2 separate regions of the Homo sapiens genome follow, and region 1 is linked to region 2. Evidence: promoter capture Hi-C in human tissues and cell types (Jung and others, 2019). All regions are on one chromosome and are shown on one strand. Each heading gives the region's core, a stretch centred on a gene start or on the middle of the fragment in contact. The rest is flanking DNA. Distances are from core to core; before and after follow the strand shown. Region 1 overlaps CEACAM5 (CEA cell adhesion molecule 5). Region 2 holds the start of CEACAM3 (CEA cell adhesion molecule 3).

The links. The method cuts DNA at HindIII sites, captures the fragments that hold promoters and counts their contacts. A contact is called where the count stands out against the background at its distance.
Region 1: a fragment that was not itself captured here is called in contact with the fragment with the promoter of CEACAM3 in region 2 in 6 of the 25 tissues and cell types used here (H1 embryonic stem cells, IMR-90 fibroblasts, aorta and 3 more).

What each region holds. Positions count from the first base shown.
Region 1 is chr19:41,723,347-41,728,424 of GRCh38, forward strand. It overlaps CEACAM5 (CEA cell adhesion molecule 5), which reads left to right. Exons shown (of 10, transcript NM_004363.6): 9 at 3,888-4,006. The coding sequence ends at 3,970. Among named protein-coding and RNA genes, the nearest start is that of CEACAM5, 17 kb to the left of the region's middle. The HindIII fragment of the contact is 5,255 bases long and covers 218-5,078 here.
Region 2 is chr19:41,793,541-41,798,921 of GRCh38, forward strand. It overlaps CEACAM3 (CEA cell adhesion molecule 3), which reads left to right and starts at 3,047. Exons shown (of 7, transcript NM_001815.5): 1 at 3,047-3,201; 2 at 4,049-4,408. The coding sequence starts at 3,138. The HindIII fragment of the contact is 7,198 bases long and covers 109-5,381 here.

The DNA.
Region 1 (5,078 bases), core at 1,595-4,094, 70 kb before region 2:
TGGCCATCCTGATGTGTGTGAGGTGGAGTATCATTGTGGCTTTGACTTGCATATCTCTAAGTGTTAGTGATGTTGAGCATATTTGCATGTGCTTGTTGGCCATTTGTATATCTTCCTAGGAGAAATCTCTACTTTAGTCCTTTGTCCATTTATTAATTGGGATTTTGGATTTTTGTGGTTGTTGATTTGTAAGAGTTCTTCATATATTCTGGAAATTAATCCCTTATCAGATATATGATTTGCAAATATATTTCCCATTTCATAGGTTGCCTTTTCACTTTCTCGATAATGTTCTTTAATATATAAAAGTTTTTAATTTTCGAGGCCCTGCACGGTGGTTCCTGTAATCCCAGCACTTTGGGAGGCCGAGGCAGGTAGATTACAAGGTCAGGAGATCAAGACCATCCTGGCTAACACAGTGAAACCCCGTCTCTACTAAAAATACAAAAAAAATTATCCAGGCGTGGTGGTGGGCGCCTGTAGTCCCAGCTACTCAAGAGGCTGAGGCAGGAGAATGGCATGAACCCAGGAGGCATAGCTTGCAGTGAGCTGAGATCGCACCACTGCACTCCAGCCAGGGTGACAGAGCGAGACTCTGTCAAAAAAAAAAAAAAAAAGTTTTTAATTTTCATGAAGTCCAGTTTATCAATTTTTTTCTTTTGTTGCCTATTTGTTGTTATAACCAAGACATGACTGTGAAATTAAATGTCATTAAGCTTTTTTCCCTATGTTTTCTTCTCAGAGTTTTATACTTTTCACTCTTACATTTAGGTCTTTGATCCATTTTAGGTTAATTTGCATATATGGTATCAGGCAAAGATTCAACTTGTTCTTGTGCATGGATATTCAGCTTTCCCTATATCATTTGTTGAAAAGACTGTCCTTTCCCCATTAAATGGTCTTGGCACCGTTATCAAAAATCATTTGGCCATATATGCAAGCATTTCTTTCTGGGCTCTATATTCTATTGCTTTGGTTTCAATATCTTCCTTTATGCCAATACCACACTGTATTGATTACTGTGGCTTTATAGCAAATGCTGAAATCAGGAAGTGTGAGTCCTCCAGCTTCATTCTTTATTTTCCAGGTTGTTTGGCTATTTAGAGTCCTGAGATTCCATATGAATTTCAGGATATGTTTTTCTATTTCTGCAAAAAATGTCACTGGGACTCTGGTACAAATTGCGTTGAACCTGCAGCTCACTTTGAGTGGTATTGTCCTCCTAGCAATATTGAGACTTCCCATCCATGAAAAAAAAATGTCTTTCCATCTATTGATGTTGTCTTTAATTTCCTTCAGCAGTGTTTTATAGTTTTCAGGGTACAATCCTTTCACCTCCTTGGTTAAGCTTATTTCTAACTATTTTATACTATTTTATGTTAATGTGAATTGGAAATTTTTTCTTAATTTCCTTTTAGATTGTTCATTGTTAGTGTGTAGAAGTACAACTGATGTTTGCGTGTTGATTTTGTATCCTGCAACATCACTGAATTTATTTATTAACTCTAACAAGTTTTTTAATCTTCAGGGTTTTCTACAGAGAAGTCCAAGTTATCTGAAAACACAGATCATTTTACTTCTTTCCAATTTGGATGTCTTTTTTTTTCTTGCCTAATTTCTCTGGCTAGGACTTCTAATACTGTGTCGAATAGACGTGGCAAAAGCAGGCATTCTTGTCTTGTTCCTGGTCTTACAGGGAAAGCTTTCAGTCTTTCTCCATTGAGTATCATGTTAGCATTGGGCTTTTCACACATTGCCTTTATTATGCTGAGGTGGTTTCCTTCCATTCATAATTAGAGTGTTTTTGTTGTGAAAGAATGGTGAATTTTGTCAAATGCTTTTATTGGTTCTATCTAATTATAGGCCTATTAAATTTTTTTGTGTTTCCAGGAATTTGTCCATTTCATCTAGGTTATTCAACAGTTTGTTGGCATACAATTATTCATAGCATTCTTGTAGTCCTTAATATTTCTGTAGAATTTGTAGCATTGGTAGCAATATCTCCATTTTCTTTTTTTTTTTCTTTTTTTTTTTTAAGAGACAGGGTCTCACTCTGTAGCCCAGCACAAGCTAGAGTGCAGTGGTGCCATCATAGCTTACTGCAGCCTCAACCTCCAAGGCTCAAGTGATCTTCTGCCCCAGCCTCTTGAGAAGCTGGGACTACAGACATGTGACACCAAGCCTGGATAGTTTTTTAAAGAAATTTTGTAGACACTGTGTCTGCCTATGTTGCCCAGGCTGGTCTTGACCTCCTGACCTCAAGTAATCCTCTTGCTTGAGTCTCCCAATGTGCTGGGATTAAATGTGTGAGCCGCTATACCTCCATTTTCATTTCTGATTTTAGTAATTTGAATCTTCTCTCTTTTTTCTTAGTCAATCTAATAAATGATTGTCAATTTTGTTGATCTTTTTTGAAGAACCAACTTTTGGTTTCATTGATTCCTTCTATTGTTTTTCAATTTTCCATTTTATTTATTTAAACTCTAATCCTTATTATTTCCTTCATGTACTATCTGTGGTTTGAGGTGGTTCTTTTTCTGTATCCTGAAGTTGTAAAGTTAGGTTGTTGATTTGAGATCTCTCTTTATATTTAATGTATTTACCATTAAATTTCTCACACAAGATTCTTAACTTCTCTGAGCCTTCAATTCTTCAACTGAAAATTGTAATAATTCTCATCACCAGGAAATGGAGGAAAAATGAAAATTGCAATAAGAATGACTGTTTAACAGTATTGTTTTAAAGATTTAATGTAATATTCGATTAAGCTTTCAGCAAAATGCTACACACAGAGGGAAACTTCATAAATATTAGCTGCTATTATCACTACTGTTATTATTAGCTTGAAGTTAGGCAGTTCTAGAGCCAAATCCTAGATCCACTTCTCACTAATTATATGACTTTGGATAAGTTTTTTCACCACTCCAAGTCTCTGTCATTTCATCTGTAAGATGGAAATCATGCCTACCCAACAGGGTTATTGTATGGATCAAATGAGATGCCAGAAAAGCATTTACAGTAGCTAACATAGCATTAATCATCAGCCTGAGTTGACTAGTGAGAGCCAAGCCCCAAATGAAAACCCACTAGGACATGGTTACTGGCTAAAAATGGGGGAGAGAAAAAAAAGTTAAGTGCAAAGAATCAAGCCTGGTATGTTAGTTTTCATCCACTGAGATTCAGCCAAGATGGAATTAGAGGTGCAAGATAATTTACCGGGGGGAACCACCATGAGGAAAAGTGGAGTAGAAGTGGGAGGAGCCTGAGAGAGCCCTCAGACCACGATGCAGATCTGATTCCTGAGAAGGAGAAAGAGGAGAGAGTTTTAGATAGTGATGCAGTTCTCAGAGTTTCCACAAGGCTGGTGGGGCGTCCTCAAGCCCCTCACCCATGAGAGAGAAGCAGAGTCCCCCAGAACTGGGCTTTTCATTCCCCTGGTGGGAGCCCATGAGAAGCGAGTTCTCTGTGCAACGGACTTAGTAAATACAGAATGCACTAGCCTGGGCCTTCTGCCAATCAAGTCCCTGCCACAGAGACCCAACAGACTTATTTATGCCTACCACAACTGAGACACTGAGAAAAAGATGCAACCATGAAAAGATAGAAAGTTCTAATGACACGCAAAAATAGCAATCAGACTTTCTCAAATTTCAAAGCCTTCAGAAATAGCTGAGTGCAGACAGGCCAGGGTGGAATTGACAGAAGACTGATCACCAACTAGCAACACAGTGAGAGAGAAAAAATTGCAACTTTCCCACAAAACTAATGCATTCCTTGAAGCAACAAGTAGAGACTGCTTCATGCTGAGAGCTGGAACCTGGGGCACCCCACTGTAAAATAACATCACATTCATTCCTTCTCTTTTCTTTCCATGACGGACGATTCAGCATCTGGAACTTCTCCTGGTCTCTCAGCTGGGGCCACTGTCGGCATCATGATTGGAGTGCTGGTTGGGGTTGCTCTGATATAGCAGCCCTGGTGTAGTTTCTTCATTTCAGGAAGACTGGTAGGTATAATGGCCTTTCCTCTTGTTCTGTTTCCTGCAGTGCTGACTGCCATGCTTGGGAGAGGGAAGGGATTTCTTCACCTGTATCTGGGACTGGATCTCTTCCTCCTACCCCCAAGCTCCTGCTTCTCAGCACTAATTCCTGCAGGTCTCTTCTTCCCTGGTCTTCATGCTCCCTGTACGCCACTGTCTCTTAGATATAATTATCCCCACCCTCTGCTCATTTGTTTCCCAGATTCAATACATTGTCAAAGCCTCTTGGTCCTTTTTTAACATCTCACACTTGTGTCATTCTCTCCATTCCCATAAACCTCAACAACTGCTCAAAGTCCTGCTTGACCCCTTGTTGCCAGTCTTTGAAATCTTTCTTGCATATGACTGCCTCATTACCTTCCTAAAATCTAGTTCACTCGCCTACTCAAGAAGACACAGGGGCCTACTGTGGTGTATTAGATAAGTTCACATTTCTTCTCTTTACTAATCTTTTTTACTTCCTTTACCACCACTCCCTTATATAATTCCATCATCCTAATAGATCTGTTTCCCTACACATCCCTGCCTCTCCACCCCACATGTACACAGAATTCTTAGTTCCGGTGTTACACCTAAAAACATGTCAAACAGGGTGACCTCCTTCCACTGTCTGCACTGTGGAGTTACCCACACCCTTAATCACAAGCAACTTCTGACCTCATGAAGAACAAAGACTGTAGCATTAACCTGTGAGTCTTAAGCTCAGGACACAACTGTGCCTGTGACTGAGAACCTTTTCCTGATAACCAATTCATATGTTCATAACAGATACAGAAATGAAGAAGGCAAGGTCCTTAATTCTATAACAGGAGACAAAACCTGAAAAATAATCATAATGCCAAAATAGAAAGGAGTGAACATCACAAGAAATTAGAGAAATCTGACGGAAAATATAGCTACACATTGGAATCACTCAGAAACATTTTATAAAATGGATACTTAAGTCCCACCGATAAATTCCGATTTACTGGTCTGGAGTGGGACCCAGGCATTCGTAATTTTTAAGCCTCCCCAGATGCTACTAATGTGTAGCCAGGAT
Region 2 (5,381 bases), core at 1,797-4,296:
GGATATTATGAAAGAAATCATATTTTATATGATTTATAATAGATGACTCATTACTTATAATATTACTTGTTAATCATAAAATTACTTATAATAATAGCTGACATGTTTTAAGAACTCCTGTGTCTCAGGCATTGTTCTAAGCACTTCACATTTATCTCATTTTATCCTCACAGAAATCTTATGCATTTTACATTTTTTTACTTTTCATTTTTCAGACTTTCAAAAATATTGTAAAAATAGTCAGAGTTCCAGTATATCCTTCATCCAGCTTTTTCAAATAACCTTAACTCTAAAGCAATTATCAAAATCAGTCACCTAGCATTGATACAAAAAATTTTAAAATATAGAAATATGGGGCCGGGCACGGTGGCTCACGCCTTTAATCCCAGTACTTTGGGAGGCCAAGGAGGGTAGATCACGAGGTGAGGAGATCGAGACCATCCTGGCTAACACGATGAAACCCCGTCTCTACTAAAAATACAAAAATTAGCCAGGCGTGGTGGCAGGTACCTGTAATCCCAGCTACTCGGGAGGCTGAAGCAGGAGAATCTCTTGAACTCAGGAGGTGGGGGTTGCAGTGAGCCCAGATCGAGCCACTGCACTCCAGCCTTGGCGACAGAGTGAGACTCTGTCTCCAAAAAAAAAAAAAAGAAATATTAAAATTTTGCTAATCATCCCAGTCATGTCTTTTTTCTGCTCCAGAGTCCAACCCAGGATCCCACACTGAATAACACTGTCACATTTCCTAGGCCTCCTCCAACCTGGGGGAGTTTCCCACTCTTTCCCTCTCTCAGGACCTTGATGCTTTTGAGGAGGTCTGGTCAGTTGTTTTGTAGAATGCCCCTCAATTTGGGTTTGTCTCATGTTTCCTTGGGATGTTTCAGGTTATGCATTTTGGGCAAGATTAGCACAGAAGCGATGTGTCTTTCTCAGGACATCCCAGCCGGAGCCCCAGGATGTCTATATCTCTCATTACCGATGAGGTTCACTTTAAGCGCTTGGTTCAGGTGGTGTCTGCCAGGTTTCTCTACTGTGAAGTTACTATTCATCTCATTGTAATTAATAAGTATCTTGTGGACAGGTACTTTGGAAATATGCAAATAGCCAGTTTGTTCTTAGCATACTTTTACCAATTAATTTCTAGAATCCAGAGATAATTGTAGCCGATAAACAATTCTTACTGTGGTGTTAGCCAGTGATTTTCTGCTTCCATCATTGCTTCTACACTGATTAACTGGAACGCTGCTGTAAGAAAGAGCTAGTTCTTCTTTCTCATTTATTTATGTATTCACTTATTTATATATATATCAGCATGGACTCTCAAGTATTTATCGGTTGGACTACATTACTATTATTATTGATTATGTTGCTATATTGTCCCCAAATTGGCCATTGGGAGCTTCTTCTAGTTGGCATTTGTGATACTTTCCACACATCCCCATCATTTTTCAAGTTGTGCCTTACTCTCAGGCCCCGCAAGATGCTCCAGTCTCCTCTTGTGGTTTCCTGCCCCAGCCCTGGAATCAGCCATTTCTCCAGGGAACCCTGGTTCCTTTCATGGGAGAATGATGTTTACAGACCATGGGCGCCCATATGCCCATTGCTAGTAGGTGCCGGTGCTTCTATGCCCTCTAGTGGTCAGAGCTGGGAAATAACACACCCACACTAGTGTACTGTTACCCACATTTCACAAATTAGGTAAATGAGGCACAGAAAAGTTAGGCAACTTGACCAACATCACAGAGAAAATAGGTAGTGGAACTGGGAAATGAAAATAATGACAGATGCACCACAAGTTCTAACAAGCAAAAGTAGCTTTTTCACACATCCACATCAGCAGAAAGCCACAAGCCCAATATTCCGGCGTAGACACTCTTTGAAAACCAGAATTCCACAGCAATAACCACGATGACAACCACCATGTACTCAACACCCGCCTGGGCACGGGGCTCCCACAGCAGCTCACTTATTCCCAACAACTCTGCAAGGAGGATTTTACCATCCTCCTTTTACAAATCAGGGAATCAAGGATCATAGAAGCCACGTGACTTGTCCAAGTCAACATAGTTAAGTGACAGAACCATTAGCTGTCCCCAGGTACATCTGGACATAAAGTTCATGTTTATGCCACTGTGTCAGCATTTCCAAAAACTGATTTTAGGCGAAACGTAAGTAAGCTTTTTAAAAACTTTAATACTTATGCGTTTATTTTAATATACATTGAGAAAACATTTAAGCACACATCAAATCTGTAATTTCATGGACAATATTGCATAAGACAAGGATGTTTTGTCTCCAACTCCTGGCCTCAAGCCATCCTCCCACCATAGCCTCTCGAGTAGCTGGGATCACAGATCTGAGCCACCGATCCCTGCTAGGACAGGATGTTTTGTAAACTAAATTTATTTAGAAAAAAGGATGAAATATATAATAATAAAGGTGGTACAAGCTAGAGAGAAAATCATAAAGTCAGCCTAGAAATGTCTGGTGTCTGGATGACATAAAGCTACAGCACTGTGAAGCCTCATTCTCAGTTACTCCCAGGAAATTAGAGTCACATAATGCTGCAGAAAGAACAGCTCAGAATCTTAGATCCGGGCTTTAGCCCTAGATATATCCATTTGTAGGACCCCAGACATCTCTGTGACCTCCTTGCTGGGAGTAAATCCAACCTTCCCAGACATGTGAGAACAGTAAGAAGACCCTGCACACACAAAGGAGTTTCTCCGTCACAGAGAAAATAACACCAGGTTCAGGGACCCCAGGGACTCTGCATGGTGCTGACAGACCCAAGGCCAAGGCAGAGCAGAGGTCCACGCTGGGGAGGGAGGGTCATCCTGTTATGAAACAGGGATCCAAGTAAGCCTTGCTTCTCAGAGCCTGGTCTGGGGAACTCAAATGTAGACAGAAGGGAGAAAGGAAGAAGAGAAAATGAGGCAAAACTGAGAGGGGAGGGGACAGAGAGGTGACCTGGGCAGAGCTTCACCCATGACCCTGGAAAGTGCTCCTGCCCTGGGAGGAGGCTCAGCATGGAAAGAGGAAGGACAGCAGAGCCTAAGTCACAGTAGCCCTGACTACAGCATTCCTGGAGCCCAGGCTCTTTTCCACAGAGGAGGAAAGAGCAGGCAGCAGAGACCATGGGGCCCCCCTCAGCCTCTCCCCACAGAGAATGCATCCCCTGGCAGGGGCTTCTGCTCACAGGTGAGTGGAGGATTCCTGGGAGTGGGCAAGAGGAGGGATCACAGAGAATGGCTGGGGTCTCCTGGGGAGGATGGGGCTCTGATAGGGGACAGAAGGCTTCTGCTGAAGCCTCAGGGGAGAGAACATCAGAGAGGGACACGGGTCACAACAAGACAATCACATTGAACTGGGATTGATAAGAGGGAGGAAAATCCATTGATCATGTTTTCCAAGTTAATCATTACTGGCCACTACAATTAGAAAATGATAAGAATAAGAATTACATCAGGGTGATACTTTAAATAAAAATATAACCAGGGCACTAAAACCTGTCTTTGACCACCAACCACAAGTTGCAAAATAACCACCACTCCTTAACTCATCCACCAGTATTTGCAATCAAATTTTAGGCACTGGCGTACAACAAATATCAGACAAGTCTCTGTGTTCAAAGAGCTTACACTCTTGCAGAGATGAAGATAGACACCCAAAGAGATCTAGAATGTGAGTTCAGGTGTTGACAAGAGCCCTGGAGGGAACAGAGCAGAAAAAGGTCAGAAAGGGAAGACCCAGGGTCTCTAGAGGAGGTGTCAGGGGAGGGATCTCCCAAGGATGCCCTGATGTGAGCAGGATCTGAGGGCAGTGGGGAGGGAGCCATGCAGACCCCTGGGGAAGGGGATTCCACACAGGAAAATGCCAAGGTTAGAGGTGCTGAAGAAAGAAAGGTCACGTTACTGACCTTGACCAAGTGGGACACACATACACTCTCCAAGGCTGAAGGGTGAAGAGACTCTCTCAGGACCCAGGGCCCCATCTTTCCATCCCAATACATGGGTCCCAATATTGACTGATGCTTTCTCCCTCCTAGCCTCACTTCTAAACTTCTGGAACCCGCCCACCACTGCCAAGCTCACTATTGAATCCATGCCGCTCAGTGTCGCAGAGGGGAAGGAGGTGCTTCTACTTGTCCACAATCTGCCCCAGCATCTTTTTGGCTACAGCTGGTACAAAGGGGAAAGAGTGGATGGCAACAGTCTAATTGTAGGATATGTAATAGGAACTCAACAAGCTACCCCAGGGGCCGCATACAGCGGTCGAGAGACAATATACACCAATGCATCCCTGCTGATCCAGAATGTCACCCAGAATGACATAGGATTCTACACCCTACAAGTCATAAAGTCAGATCTTGTGAATGAAGAAGCAACTGGACAGTTCCATGTATACCGTGAGTATTTCCACATGACCTCTGGGTGTTGGGGGTCAGTTCTACTTCCCACATATGGGATTGTCAGGCCTGGGCTGTGCCTGTGGCCCTCTCTGCATTACATTCTGTATCAGGGTTTGGACATTTAGTGCAGGACACACACGGGGGAGACAAACTTCCACAGATCAGAATTCCTTTCCTGCATCCAGACCCTGCAGACACTCGCTGCAGAGGAAGGACAGTCTGATGGGGGGACTCAGCAGGGCAAGGTCAGTGTCAGAAAAGAACCCCATGGTCTCCCCATGGACCTGACCCTAAGAAAGACCCTGGAGAACTGGATCAGGGCCTGGCCTGAGGGGTCCCCCTAGGATTCTCAGAGAGAAGCTCAACTCTTCCCAGAACTGAGCCCCTGTGCAAATCCCTGTCCCAGATTCCTGACTCCAGGTGACCCTGGGGACCCTAGGGATCCTGTGCCAGGGCTGAGTGAGGCCTCCTGGGCAGGGCTGACTGGGAGCAAGAATTTACCAGCTGTCTGAGGGTCGTGGCTCCTGGAGTTGGTCACCAGCCAGGGTCCAGCCCCAAGAACCTCTCCTGGGCAAGGACAGGGCCTCATCCTTTACCTGAGACTCAGCATGGAGTGAACAGATGGACAAGATTACTAGGGCATGAGCCCACTGCCCAGGGGAACTTAGATGACTCCATGGGAAGTTCAGTATCCCCAGGGGGAGGAAAAAGAAGAGAGAAGATGCTCCCAGCAGCTCCTTTTCCACAAGGGATCAGACTCAGGGACCTCTCTTTTGGAGGCAAATAAGCATAGATGCTGTTCCTTTGGGCAGCTCCTCTATACACAGCTGAGGTCAAGTAATTGTAAATATTTTGAGATTAATTCACAAACAACGTCACAGCCAAATAGCACTTATCCTACTTATTGAAAAAAAAAATTGAGGAACAGGGAGACAGTCACCGACTAGGGTCACACAAGTCAAAGGTGTCA